Regions from separate parts of the Homo sapiens genome. Here region 1 is linked to region 2. Evidence: promoter capture Hi-C in human tissues and cell types (Jung and others, 2019). All regions are on one chromosome and are shown on one strand. Each heading gives the region's core, a stretch centred on a gene start or on the middle of the fragment in contact. The rest is flanking DNA. Distances are from core to core; before and after follow the strand shown.

Region 1 (5,002 bases), core at 1,751-4,250, 61 kb before region 2:
CTGCTACAGACGGCAAAACACAGAGACAAAAAAAAAAAAAAAAAACAGGATCTAAATGGGCTTTTAATTTTTTTTTTTAAGAGAAAACTAGAATTGTTGACCACATTACCAAGGAAGAATAAGAATAGAGAATTTTATTGTTAAGCCACACCAAATTTCTGCCTTGTTAAGAGAATGGCATTACTGAAAAACTGAAGACTTCATCAAGAAAATGTACATAAGCTAACAATATAAGATTAATCACTAAAAAAAAAGTAATATAATTTCCAGACCAGGAGGGGGAAAAAAAGTGGTGAGGGTTGGCCGGGCGTGTTGGCTCTCGCCTGTAATCCCAGCACTTTGGGAGGCCGACGCAGGCAGATCACGAGGTCAGGAGATCAAGACCATCCTGGCTAACATGGTGAAGCCCTGTCTCTACTAAAAATACAAAAAAAAATTAGCCGGGCATGGTGGTGGGCACCTGTGGTCCCAGCTACGGGGGAGGCTGAGGCAGGAGAATGGCATAAACCTGGGAGGCAGAGCTTGCAGTGAGCCGAGATCAAGCCACTGCACTCCAGCCTGGGTGACAGGGTGAGACTCCGTCTCAAAAAAAAAAAAAAAAAAAAAAAAAAAAGGTGAGGGTGGAGATAATATGTCAACCCAAGTCAGGAAAAGAAAAAAAATACAGAAAAAATAGTAGACAAAATACTGAATAAGATAGTAACATAACTCCAAGTGAAATGGATTAAACTCATCTATTTGAAAACAACAACAGCATCAGGTGAAATAAAAAGCAAAGAAGTCTGAGGACTGAGCAAGGTGGCTCATATCTGCAATCTCAGCTCTTTGGGAGGCCACGTTGGGAGGATCATTTGAGAACAGGAGTTGGAGATCAGCCTGGGCAACATAGCAAGACATCATCTCTACAACAACAAAAAAAACAACAAAAGTAGTGCACACCTGTAGTCCCAGCTACTTGGGAGGCTGAGGCAGGAGTCTGAGAGTTCAAGTCCAGCCTGGGGAACATAGCAAGACCCTGTCTTTATGAAAAAAAAAAAAAAAAAAAAAATTTAGCCAGGTCTGGTGGCGTATGCCTATGGTCCTAGCTACTCGGGGGCCTGAGGTAGGATCATTTGAGCCCAGGTGGTCGAGTCTACAGTCAACTGTGATTGCGCCACCGGCATTCCAGTCTGGGCAGCAGAGTGAGATCCTGTCTCAAAAAGGGGGAAAAAGCCTGGGCGCAGTGGCTGACACCTGTAATCCCAACACTTTGGGAGGCGGAGGTGGGCGGAACACCTGAGGCTGGGAGTTCGAGACCAGCCTGGCCAACACGGTTAAACCCCATCTCGACTAAAAATACAAAATTAGCCAGGCATGGTGGCGCATGCCTGTAATCCCAGCTACTCAGGAGACCGAGGCAGGAAAATTGCTTGAACCTGGGAAGTGGAGGTTGCGGTGAGCCAAGATCACGCCATTGTACTCCAGTCTGGGCAATAAGAGCAAAACTCCGTCTCAAAAAAAAAAAGCCGCCAGAGGCGGGAAGCTAGCTAGAATGTGGAGAGACCTGGTCTTCCCCACACAGGTGGTTTGAACTTTTTTCATAAAATAGAGATGAGGTCTCACTCTGTTGCCCAGGCTCCAACCCCTGGACTGAAGCGATCATCCAGCCTCAGTCTCCCAAAGTGCTGGGATTATAGGTGTGAGCCACCACAACCAGCCGAGAACTGTTTTTCTAGACGTTACTTCATGCCTTAGTGTAGATAGGTACAGCAAGATACTGGATTTCCCCCTGCCCACTCCGACTCAAAACACAGTGGGGCTCCCTCCTGAGGTAGCAGGTGGTGGATCTGAAGGGACCCTTCACCCCAACTCCCCTGCCGCACCCTCTCCCCGTGCCTCAGGGCCCAGCTTCCTCCTCTTAGAGGCCGTTTCTTTATTTTTTCTTTCTTTTTTTTTTTTTTTTTTTTTTTTTTTTTTTTTTTTTGTTTCTTTGAGCTGTCTCCTACAGGAAGAGGCTGTTAGGGTGCAGCCTCGATCTTTGTCCAGAGAAGACTGACAGTTTATTTCTCTAGGACTTCATTGAAAGCCAAAGTTATGCTCTTGGTTTGAAGAAGTGTGTTAGCTCTTGCCTTCTGGGTTTCTGGCTACAAACTCTGGGCGGCATCAAGAGGTACCAGAGCTGAGATTTCAGATGGATATAAAGTCAAAGTTGGATGTCCTGCAGGAAGGGAGGGGCTGCCCGAGGGTTTGGTGCTGCGGAGTGGAAAGGGCCTGAGTCCCTAGGGTAGCACTGAGGGGTCTGTGCCAGAGGCTGATACCAGGGTGTTGCAGTGCGGGTGACTTCAGTTAACCAAGCAGGGTGGTGAAGCGGCCCATTCTCAGACAGGTCAAGGACAGGCCTCGCTGCTTTTGAGTTGTTGGGGAGGGAGGGGCTTTCGGTAACTGGCCACCTGCGCCCACCCCCACCCCTCCGCCCCAGCTCCTTCTGCCTGGTTTGGGTGCTGCCCCCCACCCAGGAGGCAGGGAGTGTTCTGGGTTGCTAGGCTGGCAGGGATCTGGGGCACAGCGAATGTTTTGATGGTTGTACCCCAGTTAGTGGAAGAGTGCTTTGGGAAGGCAGTGGGGGCTGTGGAAGGAGCTCTGGGCTTGAAGTCATCAGACCTGGCATGGCGTTAAAGCATCTTCACTTCCGCCTGGCTGACCTTGTTCAGCTGGTCCTGGGACTCCTGCGCATACTAAATGAGAGGCTATCCCCCGAAAATGCTCAGAGGTTCATAAAGCATCGGTCCATTGGAGCAGTAGGCTGTGGCTTCATGCCTTTAGAATGAGCTTTGGGACACGTCCTCAGGCTGTGTGTAAGTGGGTGGAGAGGGGCTTTATCTTTCGTCTTTCTCCTCTCCCTCCCAGAGGCAAGCAGCACCCATCCCCCCAGGCTCCGTGCCTTATTTTGACGTTTCTTTTCTCTGCATGCCAAGAAGGTTGTATTCAGCTGTGCTGGTCTGAGGTGGTGCTTATCCTGTGCTTCATTAGGTTAAGTCGTTGATGGCTGTCTCCTGGGATCTGACCGAGAATTGGCTCTAAAGCTGCTACAGCCTCCAAAACAGTCCCTGCTGTTCTCGTTTTGGGGCACTCTTTGCTTTGCTCCTCAATCAGGTGCTTTTGTTTTTTCCTTCCATTTACCTGCGTGCTGGTGAGGGTCTCCTTTGAGGTTCCTTGTACTGGGAGGTGGAAGTAGCCCTTCGGCTGCATCTCCTGAGGATGGAAGGCGGGGTCTTCAAGGCCCTTGCTGCCCCTGACCTCTGGATCCTGGCTGCCAGTTCCTCTGGACAGCCTCAGCAACTTGGACATGGACCAGCCATTCAGGGGACATTTATTGATAAATGGTCTCCCCAAATTTGCCAAATTTGTGACCACAAACTTCTTAGAAGACTGTAGTATTGGCACAGTGGCTCACACCTGTAATTCCAGCACCTGGGGAGGCCGAGGCAGGCGGATCACTTGAGGTCAGGAGTTTGAGACCAGCCTAGCCAACATGGCGAAACCTCATCTCTGTTGAAAATACAAAAATTAGCTGGGCGTGGTGGCACGGGCCTATAGTGCCAGCTGCTTGGGAGGCTGGGGCAGGAGAATTGCTTGAACCCAGGAGGTGGAGGTTGCAGTGAGCCAATATTGCGCCACTGCACTCCAGCCTGGGCAACCGAGTGAGACTCCATAAAAAAAAAAAAAAAGGCCATAGTGTTGTCTTGCCACCTCCTAAATTTCCCTAGTTACTCCCTTTCTCTTTTAGAAGACTATTTCACATCTGGTCTCTCTGTAAATCTCCAACCCCAACAATAAAGGGACACTCCTCACTGTCTGTGCCGCTTGCTCGGCTTTGCCACCTGTCCCACAGGTAGCCCCCCTCCAGGACGACACTCGATGCCATCATCTCGTGCTGCTCCCGGCCTTTGTTCCTCTGTTCACTTCTTTTTCCTGGATCATAAATTTCCCCTCTAATAATTCATTCCCATCAGTGTACACACATTCTAGACCATCTCTCAGCTGAATCCCATTCCACATTCCACTCTCTTACATCCCATTCCTTTTTTTTTTTTGAGACAGAGTCTCACTCTGTCACCCAGGCTGGAGTGCGGTGGCACGATCTTGGCTCACCGCAACCTCCACCTCCCAGGTTCAAGCGAGTCTCCTGCCTCAGCCTCCGAAGTAGCGGGATTACAGGCGCATGCCACCACACCCAGCTAATTTTTGTATTTTTAGTAGAGATGGGGTTTTGCCATGTTGGCCAAGCTGGTCTCAAACTCCTAACCTCAGGAGATCCGCCACCCTCGGCATCCCAAAGTGCTGGGATCACAGCTGTGAGCCACTGTGCCTGGCCCCCCACTCCAGCCCAGGCTGGAGTGCAGTGGCATAATCTCGGCTCATTGCAACCTCCACCTCCTGGGTTCAAGCATTTCTCCTGCCTCAGCCTCCCTAGTAGCTGGGACTACAGGTGCCTCTGCCACCACCCCCCGGCTAATTTTTGTTATTTTTAGTAGAGATGGGGTTTCACCATGTTGGCCCTGCCACCACCCACAGCTAAGTTTTGTTATTTTTAGTAGAGATGGGGTTTCACCATGTTGGCCAGGCCGATCTTGAACTCCTGACCCCAGGTGATCTGCCCACCTCGGCCTGCCAGAGTGCTGGGATTACAGGGGTGAGCCACCACGCCCAGCACCATTCTCTCTTTTTGTTGTAACACCTTTATTGAGCTATAATTCACACACCATGCAGTTCATCTCTTTGAAACATACAAGTCAGTGGCTTTTTTTTTTTTTGAGACGGAGTCCTGCTCTGTTGCCCAGGCCGGAGTGCAGTGGCATGATCTCGGCTCACTGCAAGCTCTGCCTCCCGGGTTCACGCCATTCTCCTGCCTCAGCCTCCTGAGTAGCTGGGACCACAGGCGCCCGCCACCATGCCTGGCTAATTTTTTTGTGTTTTTAGTAGAGACGGGGTTTCACCATGTTAGCCAGGATGGTCTTGATCT
Region 2 (5,335 bases), core at 1,028-3,527:
TTCCTCTGGACTTAGCCCATGAGCCTTTTTCCTCCACTAATTTTGCTTTGTATCTTTTCACTATAATAAATCATAGTTGTGAGTACAACTACATACTGAGCCTGTGAGTTCTCCTAACAAATCGTCAAACCTGGCATCTCTTGGGGACTCCCACAACAGGTACTTACCAAGATGTTTCCTTATTTTAAATTCAGAACAGCCAAACCTGAACTCACCATTCCCTTTTTTCTTTTTTTGAAACAGGGTCTCACCGTCACCCATGCTGGAGTGCAGTGGTGTGATCACAGCTCACTGCAGCCTCAACCTCCCTAGGCTCAGGTGATCCTCCCACCTCAGCATCCTGAGTAACTGGGACTACAGGAGTGTACCACCACCCCGCCCAGCTAATTTTTTTTGTATTTTTGTAGAAATGGGGTTTCGCCATGTTGCCCACACTGGTCTTGAACTCCTGGGTTCAACTGATCTGCCTGTCTCAGTTTCCCAAAGTGCTAGGATTACAGGTGTGAGCCACTGTGCCCAGCCTTCACCTCTTTTTTTTTTTTTTTTTTTTTTTGAGACAGAGTCTCACTCAGTAGCCCAGGCTGGAGTGCAGTGGCGTAATTTTGGCTCACTGCAACCTCCACCTCCCAGGTTCAAGCAATTCTCATGCCTCAGCCTCCTGAGTAGCTGGTATTAACAGGGGACGACTACCACGCCTGGCTAACTTTTGTATTTTTAGTAGAGACAGGGTTTCACTATGTTGGCCAGGCTGGTATCAAACTCTTGACCTCGAGTGATCTGCCCGCCTCGGCCTCCCAAAGTGCTGGGATCACAGGTGGGTGCCATCATGCCCGGCTGCCTTCACCATTCTATCAAATCTGCCCTTCCTCCCACTTTCCTATTCCTGTTATTGGGACGTTAGTAGTACCAATAGGATCCAGGTTGAAAACAGAAACCTTTGGCTTTATCTCCCTTCTCTCCTTTATTATGTTAGCAAGTCCTACCCATTCTACCTTCATATCTTATACCCATCCCTTAATTTTCACTTCCACTGCCCAACATAGGCCCTCTATCTCGGGGCTATCAGAATAACTTCTACACTGATATTTCTATTAGCCATCACTTCTAACATATTCTGTTCTCTGTAGTTCAATAAATCCTTGCCAGCCTTGTCTAATTCTGTCAATAGCCCTCTCAAAAATCCCCATACCGGCTGGGCGCGGTGACTCACGGCTGTAATCCCAGCACTTTGGGAGGCCGAGGTGGGCGGATCACTTGAGGTCGGGAGTTCGAGACCAGCCTGACCAACATGGAGAAACCCCGTCTCTACAAAAAATACAAAATTAGCCGGGCGTGGTGGCGCATGCCTGTAATCCCAGCTACTCGGGAGACTGAGGCAGGAGAATCGCTTGAACCCGGGAGGCGGAGGTTGCGGTGAGCCGAGATGGCGCCATTGCACTCCAGCCTGGGCAACAAGAGCAAAACTCTGCCTCAAAAGAGAAACAACTACAACAAAAAAAAAGACAGTCCATTATCACTAAACAAACCTAAAGTTTAGGTCTTAGATATAAGAACAGAAAGCCACAGTGTATGCTGTAATTACATTCCAGTTGAATGAATATTCATTACTGAAAGAACAAGTACATGAAACCGTTACTTTACACATCAATGAAACAATTTGTAGTGCCTCCTTCCAACATCTGCAGTAGATTGAGGTATTAAATCCAAAAGTCAATCTGTTATTCTGCAAAGAGCTACAAACTACCAACCACGTTAAGCATGGATCTAAGAAATGTTAAATACAGAGTAGTACAGAAACATGCGAAGAACAGTCGCGTAATGAAAAAGAGAATCAGAATCTAAACTTGGCTTTCCTTATAATCGTCACCGAGGAGGTCAATAGAGGAATGACAGCATGCATAGTGGGGCGGATTTACCAAAGGATGAAGTCCTTAACCAGCCCAGATGGAGATAAAAAGCTCGACATTGGTCTCTTTAGCTCTAAGAGCAAATCAAGGGCAAGTGACTGCCCTAGCAAACTGCAGGAGCGCGTTGCCCAGGGGCCTCCCCAACCCGGGGAGCTCCCTGTGCTTTTGGGAGGTTTCGCTTGGGCCCCTGCTACGTCCTCCTCGCCAGGAGCTGAGCTACTGACCGACTTGACAGCCGCTTCCTGCTCGTCCACCGCCAGGGCCCACGAGTCGGTGGCCATAGTCCCGGACAAGGGAGACCCACTTGTGAAAATATGCGCTGCACCACGTCGCAACGCGGGCCCTAACCTCGCCACCGGCGCGAGAATGCACCTCACGCGGACCGGAAGCGGCGGTGAGCACAGGTGACGTCAGTTCCCACCCAGCGTGCGACATCATCATTCTGCGCGGCGCCAGGTCTCTCCTCGGGCCTCGCCTTTCCCTTCGTGCGCAAACCTCGCGCTTTTTGCTCACCCTTCCAGGACGCGGCCTCCTCGCTTCTTAAAATGTCTGAGCTCTACGAAGTGGAACTGTTAGCCCTCCGTTTATTGCCTTACTTCACACTGAAATAAGCCAACGTTTATTTTATTTTATTTATTTTATTATTTATTTTATTATTTTTTTTCGAGACGGAGTCTCGCTCTGTCCCAGGCTGGAGTGCCGTGGCGGGATCTCGACTCACTGCAACCTCCGCCTCCGTGTTCAAGCTATTCTACCTCAGCCTCCCGAGTAGCTGGGATTACAGGTGCCCGCCACCACGCCCGGCTAATTTTTGTATTTTTAGTAGAGATGGGGTTTCACCATGTTGGCCAGGCTGATCTCGAACTGCTGACCTTGTGATCCTCCCGCCTCAGCCTCCCAAAGTGTTGGGATTACAGGCGTGAGCCACCGCGCCCGGCCCCCAACGTTTCTTTTTAAGCCTGTCATATCTCACATTAAATGTGTAAGTCTCTGAACTGTAGGGCTTTGAACAAAGGAAAGTTCCATGAGAATACTATATGATGCCAATTTCTACTGTTAGGAACGCGATAACAGGTAAGAAAACAAAAACCAAAACGCAACAGAAGACCCGTAAACCCCATAATTCCACCATCCAATAAACACAACACACAATGCGTTTTTTCGTTTCTTTTTTGAGTCAGGGTCTCATTGTGTCGCCCAGGCTGGAATGCAGTGGTGTGATCTCGGCTCACTGCACCCTTGACCTCCCACCTCAGCCTCCCAGGTAGCTGGGCCCACAGGCCCGCACCACCACTCCTGGCTAGTTTTTAAACTTTTTGCAGAGACGGAAGTCTTCATTATATTGCTCAGGCTGCTTTTGATCTCCTGCTAACTCCAGAGATCCTCCTGCCTTGGCCTCTCAAAGTGTTGGGATTACAGGCATGAGCCACCACACCTGGCCATTATGTTGAAGGACCACCAAATACATAATGTATAATCTATTTATATGAGATTCAAGAATAGGACAAATAAAATCTATGCTGATAAAAACTAACAGAGCTTACCTGTGGAGAAGGATGTTTGGTCCAGACACAAGAGAACTTCCTGGGTGATAGAATTATTCTGTATCTTGATTGGGACCTGGTTACATAGATGTGTAAATTTGTTAAGTCATGCTACTTTGTATTTCTAAACTCATGGAACCATTATTTACAGATATCACCCAGGCTGGAGTGCAGTGGCCGGGTCTTGGCTCACTGCAACCTCTGCTTCCTGGATTCAAGCGGTTCTCCTGCCTCAGCCTCCCAAGTAGCTGGGATTACAGGCACACGCCACCACGCCCAGATAATGTTTGTATTTTTAGTAGAGATGGAGTTTCACCACGTTGGCTAGGCTGGCCTTGAACTCCTGAGCTCAAGGATCTGCCTGCCTGGGCCGCCCAAAGTGCTGGGATTACAGGTGTGAGCCACAGTGCTGACCTGCTTTTTCTTTTTTATAAGCAGTTCCCAAGGAAGAATAACTGTTTTTGTTTGTTTTTTGTGACAGGGTCTTGCTCTGTCACCTAGGCTGGAATGCAGTGGCACGTTCACAGCTCACTGCAGCCTTGATCTCCCAGACTCAAGTGATCCTCGCACCTCAGCTCCCCAGCAGCTGGGAATATAGCACTTCGCCACCACCCCTGGCTAATTTTTGTGTGAGAACTTGTGCATTTAAAATATCATGGTATATAAATTATACCTTTCAATAATGTTGATTAAAAATCAAAAAAAGGGCCGGGGGCGGTGGCTCACGCCTATAACCCTAGCACTTTGGGAGGCCAAGGCTGGTGGATCACCTGAGGTCAGGAGTTCGAGACCAGCCTGGCCAACATGGCGAAACCTCACCTCTACTAAAAATACAAAAATTAGGGCCGGGCGCAGTGGCTCATGCCTATAATCCCAGCACTTTGGGAGGCCAAGGCAGGTGGATCACCTGAGGTCAGGAGATCGAGACCAGCCTGGCTAACACAGTGAAACCCTGTCTCTACTAAAAATACAAAAACAAAATTAGCTGGGCGTGGTGGCGGGTGCCTATCGTCCCAGCTACTCGGGAGGCTGAGGCAGGAGAATGGTGTGAACCCAGGAGGCAGAGCTTGCAGTGAGCTGAGATCGCGCCACTGCACTCCAGCCTGGGCAACAGAGGGAGACCCGGTCTCAAAAAAAAAAAAAAAAAAAATTAGCCAGGTGTGGTGGGGTGCGCCTGTAATCCCAGCTACTCGGGAGAGGCTGAGGCAGGAGAATCGCTTGAACTCGGTAGGCGGAGGTTGCGGGAGCCAAGATTGCCCCACTGCACTCCAGCCTGGGTGACAGAGCAAGACTCTGTCTCAAAAAATAATAATAAAAAGGAATGAAATACATGCAATAACATGGATGAGAGATTTGACATCTCATCGCGTCTCGCTCTCTTGGCCAAGATCAAGTGGAGAGATTTGACATCTCATAGACATTATATTGCATGAAAGAACCCAGGTGCAAAAAGAGTACATATTGCATGATTCCATTCATATAAGCCCAAAACAGGTATATCTAATCTATAGAGATAGAAATCAGAACAGTGGTTGCCTGGGGATGAGATAGAGTGAGTAGGATTGACTGGGAAGGGGTACAAGGGAACTTCAGGGATGATGAAAATGCTCTGTATCTTTTTTTTTTTTTTTTTTTTTGAGACGGAGTCTTGCTCTATTTCCAAGGCTGGAGTGCAGTGGCGCAATCTCAGCTCATTGCAGCCTCCACCTCCCAAGTTCAAGCGATTCTCCTGTCTCAGCCTCCTGAGTAGCTGGGACTATAGGCGCCCGCTACCAGGCCTGGCTAATTTTTTGCATTTTTAGTAGACACAGGGTTTCACCACATTGGCCACATTGGTCTCAAACTCCTGACCTCAAGTGATCCGCCTGCCTCGGCCTCCCAAAG

Evidence for each region. Contacts are between HindIII fragments. The study calls those that stand out against the background at their distance.
Region 1: a fragment that was not itself captured here is called in contact with the fragment with the promoter of DDX19A in region 2 in 1 of the 25 tissues and cell types used here (pancreas).

Annotation. Positions count from the first base shown.
Region 1 is chr16:70,405,852-70,410,853 of GRCh38, reverse strand. All of the region lies in intron 1 of ST3GAL2 (ST3 beta-galactoside alpha-2,3-sialyltransferase 2), which reads left to right. Among named protein-coding and RNA genes, the nearest start is that of ST3GAL2, 31 kb to the left of the region's middle. The HindIII fragment of the contact is 9,507 bases long and covers 1-5,002 here.
Region 2 is chr16:70,343,845-70,349,179 of GRCh38, reverse strand. It overlaps DDX19A (DEAD-box helicase 19A), which reads right to left and starts at 2,277. Exons shown (of 12, transcript NM_018332.5): 1 at 2,132-2,277. The coding sequence starts at 2,188. It overlaps DDX19A-DT (DDX19A divergent transcript), which reads left to right and starts at 2,433. Exons shown (of 5, transcript NR_039997.1): 1 at 2,433-2,981. RefSeq lists enhancers at 2,033-2,522, 2,041-2,658, 2,659-3,277. The HindIII fragment of the contact is 37,288 bases long and covers 1-5,335 here.